Regions from separate parts of the Homo sapiens genome. Here region 1 is linked to region 2. Evidence: promoter capture Hi-C in 16 types of primary human blood cells and fetal thymus (Javierre and others, 2016). All regions are on one chromosome and are shown on one strand. Each heading gives the region's core, a stretch centred on a gene start or on the middle of the fragment in contact. The rest is flanking DNA. Distances are from core to core; before and after follow the strand shown.

The links. Contacts are between HindIII fragments. The CHiCAGO score rates a contact against its expected background, and 5 or more counts as called.
Region 1: a fragment that was not itself captured here is called in contact with the fragment with the promoter of MEF2C in region 2 in 1 of 17 cell types (megakaryocytes); the score reaches 5.1 in megakaryocytes.

What each region holds. Positions count from the first base shown.
Region 1 is chr5:89,245,723-89,248,427 of GRCh38, forward strand. All of the region lies in intron 7 of MEF2C-AS1 (MEF2C antisense RNA 1), which reads left to right. Among named protein-coding and RNA genes, the nearest start is that of LINC02161, 330 kb to the right of the region's middle. The HindIII fragment of the contact is 251 bases long and covers 1,238-1,488 here.
Region 2 is chr5:88,881,872-88,884,573 of GRCh38, forward strand. MEF2C (myocyte enhancer factor 2C) reads right to left here and starts at 1,313. Exons shown (of 11, transcript NM_002397.5): 1 at 1,084-1,313. It overlaps MEF2C-AS1 (MEF2C antisense RNA 1), which reads left to right and starts at 1,459. Exons shown (of 10, transcript NR_136219.1): 1 at 1,459-1,614. RefSeq lists an enhancer at 2,371-2,420. The HindIII fragment of the contact is 10,727 bases long and covers 1-2,702 here.

The DNA of each region.
Region 1 (2,705 bases), core at 113-2,612, 360 kb after region 2:
AAAGTGAAAATAACAACTACCATTTATTGAGTGCTTTCTATGTGACAAACACCACACTTAGAAACTTATGTTATTCCTGGTCTTTATAAAAAATATTTGAGGTGGAAGTTATTATCTTCTCCTCTACAGATAAGAAGCTGAAGCTGTGGTCATAATTTCCTCAAAGTCACAGATTTCATTTACATAGCTCCAAAGTCAGAAATCTATCTGTGACACGCCATATCATAAAATGTTACTAATAGGAAAATATTTCTTTCTTCAGAACTGGATATAAATTAAACACGATTGCTTCATTGCAGTTATTTCATTGTCTATAAATTTATATTGAAAAATTAAAAGCCAAAAAGACTCTATCTAATATGGAAATTTAGTGAACATTTGTTGTATTTCTTATCTCCTTATCTATCAAGGTACTACCTATTTCTTTCTTTTCTTTCACCATTTAACATCTTTAAAGGAGAGGTTACATTTTACTTTCACAGTTATCTCAATGCATGTGTTAGTATTTATGATGTATATAGATACACATATAACATGCATGTATTCATAAATAATATATGCGTATATTATTTGTATGTTTAATAAGTAGAATCACATTGTATGTATAATTTTGCCATTTTCTTTTTTTACTGAATGTATTTTTGAAATGAACGTTTTCTTATGTAATAATTTAGTCCATTTATTTTAATTGCTAAGTAATTTTCCACCATATAAAGAAACCACAGCCTCAATTTTTTTTTGCATGACTCACTTCCCAATCTTTTGAATGTTGGCTTCCTCCTGCAGTTATCACTTGAAACTGCTCCATTAAAAGTCACCACATCTACTAGATTTTAAAAAATACTCATCATTTTTAATCCATCCTTACATTTGGTGCTGTTAATTACCCTCATTTTCTTGAAATTTCCTGCTTTCTTGATTTTCGGTTTTGTGAAAGTACACCTTTCTTGATATCTTTGTTCTTCTCCTTTTTGTTGTGTAAATGCAGGTGTTTCCCAAAGTTATATTCTTAATTTTCTTCTTTCTTCCTTGACAGTCTCATTCATATCATGGCTTCATATTGCAAATAACTCTCCAATCCATATTTGATTTGTTTCCAGTTGTCTGCCAGACATTGCTAGTTGGATGTCACACTTGACCTAAGTATGCACTTTTCCTCTTAAATTTGTTCCTCTTTCTCTGCTTCCTATTTAAGTAAGTGGCAGTGGCACCATCTTAGCAATCATCCAGGATCAAAAGCTTGGAATGATTTATAAGTCCCTTGGGTCTCATCAGTTGCCAGGACCTGCAAATTACTGTTCTATTCATTCTGTCAAATTGGTTCCCACTGCCACTACCCTAGTTTAAACTCCATGACTTCTAGGCTTTTCACAATAGTATAACTTGTTTTCATATTACTAAGTGTCTTTCCGCTTCCTAGGCATCCTCTATCCTGCTTGATTAATTTTCCTAAAGCACAATTCTGTTCATCATATTTCCCTGTTTGAAAGCTTTTAACAGCTCTCCATTGCCTATAAAATAAAGTCCAAACCCTTTAAGCTGAAATTCTGCTTCTCTGCAAATTGATTTGTTTACCCCTTCAAACTTATTATTTCTCTATTTAATATTCCTCATATGCCTGTCAAATTGGACATCTTGCTCTTTCTGTTATTTGCTTGTATAGTCTAGGTTAAATTGTGGTAACAAGCTGCTCCAAAAGTTGTGTCTCAAAATAACACAAGTTTATTTCTTACACAATTGATGTAGTCATTTCAGTCCAGCCAGAATGTTCTCTGTTCACTGCAGTCACTCAAAGACCCAGGCTAAGGGAACAGCCACCATCTTGAATGTTGCTGCTCTCTATCACGTAGGAAATAACTTTAGAGGGTTTTGCACTAGCAATTAAATATTATGGAACAGAAGTGATAAACATCACTTCAATTCACAACTCCCTGGCCAGAATTAGTCACATAGCCCTAACTCATTGTTAGTGAAACTAGAAAGTGCAACCGAACATGTGGAACAGGAGAAGAAAAACAGATATTGATGAACAGCATTGAAGACCGACACAGTTCCCAATATTTATTTTTATCATTTTTCTTCTGTAGACCAATGCTCATGAAACTAAAAATATTCTTCATTCTCTTCTATTCTTGTTCAGATCCTGCTTACTCTTAATTCCCAGCACAGCTATCACATCTTCAGTGAATTATTTCCTAATCATCCCAGACAGACATATTCTCCCTCTCCTCTAATTTCTCATAGTCCTTTATTTTTGAGATAATCATTGTTATCCTGTGGTTATGCATTATTTCCTAGAAGTCTGGATACTTGATTTTATACAAAAAACCTTATGTAGTCAAGGGTCAATAAAACCCTTGACGACATAATTTTTTCAGTGAATACATAATTCCCATAAATTGAATCAGAGTGTATTCTGATGACTTAGAGATTCATTTCTTTTGAAAGACTGACTTCTTCTATTACCTATTTATAGGGGAGATGTTTATTCCTCATTATATATAAGGTTGGATACTATATATATGTGTATATGTATGCATACACACATATACACACACATATAATCATTGTATATCTACATGTATGATATATGTATATTTATATATCTTATGTATATATACATATAGTTAGCAGCTCCTAGCTACTATGGTATAAATATAGAGTAAATTAATTATGAATCTGCCTTATTCTCACTCTTCTCACTC
Region 2 (2,702 bases), core at 63-2,562:
AAAGCAATTCTCCACTGAGGACCGGTTAAGGAACTGGCAGAGAGCCCAATTCTACTTAGTCTACTGTCAGCATTTACATATAAAGTATTTTATACAAAAGACACGCATTCCTAAAATGTGACAAAAAAAGGCTCTCCCCAAAGAATGATAACTACTGGACTTAGAATAGTCAGAAGTGATTCAGATATAAAATTTCCTTTAAAAAGCAATAGCCATGTTCAGGGAAGGAAGGTAACATTAGCATTAAATTTAAATACTTCCACAATATTTAATAATAAAATAAACAATGTGCCACATCTATATATACTTCCTTTGTGACAAACTTTATCATCGAGTTTGGTAACTTTCATTCCAAGTCCAAAGAGAAGGCAATTTAAGTGACTTAACCTTGCTTGCTTTTAAACAGCTATGTATTTGACTTGACCTGAACAGCAATCCATATGCTGAAATCGAACGTGAATTGTGAAATGTGTAGACTACTATGGCAGGGATATTACTTTTTGTCCACACCAATTAAGAAGCCCTCTGTCAAGCCGGCACTTTGGTGAGGGAAGGAAATGCACAAAGGTATACTCTGACAGACAGCCATGCTTTAGGTCAAACTAATCCCAAGAATTAGTGGCTCAGAAGCATAACCCAGGGCAAATCAGTGTCTTTGGGGGGACTCATGGGAGCATCTTTCCACAGTGAACTAACTGCTAAATCTTAAGGCGTCTACTTCAAGGTCACAGAACATGCTGTGAAATATTAAAATCCACCAGGCTCCACACGCTCCACCATATCAAACATGCTAATGACGTGAACTAACTTCATGAAACTTTAAATACACTGGTGTGACAGGAACGAGTCAGGAGTGATTTCAATAGCTGATGGCAAACGGATACGACTATCTAAAAAGTTACTTTTAGCAACAAACAAGGAAATCATGGAATCTAACGAAAAAGAATGCACAACGAGCCTCAACTTCAGCCTTCAAAAAAGGCACAGGGATAGATAGACACAGTGCCGTGGAATATATTGATGCAGATTTTAGAGACAATACCCGGGTTTTCTATTTCCTCGAGAAATATCAGGGGTACTTACATGAAGGAAGACCCGATCAGATTAGTCCTTGGGATATTTTCCTTTCTTAAGAGAGAGAGAGAGAGAAAAAAAAAATAACAACAATAATCTTTACTTCGTCCAGCGTTGAAGTGCTTCTCCACCTGATTCAAACATGCAGCCACGGCGACCCACACAGAACCTTCAAAGTCAATCCAATAGCAGCCCGAAGATGTCTGGGTGTACGCGTGTGCTCAAGTGTCTGTGACTGCGAGCAGAGCGAGCAGAGAGCTGGAGACGATGTGTGCGTGTGTGCGCGCGCGCGAGGGGAGCGCGCGCGAGGGGGGGGGCGCGGGGCCGCGCATTCGCGCGCGCCGAGGCCGCTCGGAAGAGGAGGAGGAGGAGGAAGAAGGAGGAGGAAGAGAAGGAGGAGGAGGAGGAGGAGGAGAAAGTGGCTCTCAGCGGCCGGTCGGATTAAAAGTAACCAGACTCGTCCAGAAAACTGCGTCCAGGAAGGAAGTGACAGAAGACGAATGGGAAAAGGAGAACAGCTCACAGCGTTTGAAACATCGCGTAAAAAAGACTGGGGGTGGTGGGGGCGGGGGGGATTGAAGGATACTGGGAGGGGAGGCGGGGGTGGTAGGGAAGACGGAGCACGAATGGTTGGGGTTCTAAGCAGCACGTCCGATGAAATGTCTTTTGCCTCCTTTTTTCCCCCTTTATTTAATTTTGTCCTTGCCTTTGCTTCGCGCTGCCTTTTTCTCTCCGTCTCTCTCTCCCCCACAATCCCAAACCGTTGACTCTTTCCTCGCGAGCTGGAGAAATCATCAGTTTCACTCTTGCAAAAGGGGGGCGGGACTAGACCTCGGAGCATTTTAATAAAACAAACATACAGCAGCTCCCTCCTCACCCCTCCAGTCTCAACTAGATTGATAAATTACTCCACTACACTACTTTAATTATGTATATGGTATGCAGAATAAATCACTGAACATCAGTACCTCAATCAAGCACTTTTAAATGATAATTGCATCTTGGTGAATCAATCTTTCCATTCCTGACATTTTGCTAATTTTAGTTTTACGGTGGGGTAATAGCACATGCCATACGCAAACCTAATGACAATTCTTTATTGCACGAAATGAAGACAACACGGCGAGCTGCGGCTCCCTGCTCCTCTCGCGGCGCCTCTGCGGAGGACGCTCGGAGAGAACCTAGTCTCCCGCTGCGGCGCGCTCGCTTGCTCTCCGGGGACGCTGCGAGCCAGCCAGCAGGAAAGTCCTTCTAAAGTCGGGATCTTTCCTCTGACCAATAGGAGCGCGACCCTAATAGTTGCTCTTGTGACTTTTCCCCCTTTTGGACACGCGTTAGCCACTTCTCTCTTCCACCGGTCGGTGCGCTCCTCCGTTACTCACGCGTAAAAACCACGGTCCAGGATGTCTGCAGCACTCGATTCCAGCGTGCTTTTCCTGCACGCCCAGAAGTCGCGGTTTTCACCCTGAGAGGTTGGAGCGCTAGAAAGCGAGCCGAAAGGTTTCTCTAATGTTAGTAATGTACGAAATAATAAAATAATTACCAGTATTTGAGATCTCGACTTCATCGCGGGGCCATGAACTTTCTAATCAGTTTGGAAATATTTACCGAGGAAGCAGCTTCCTCGG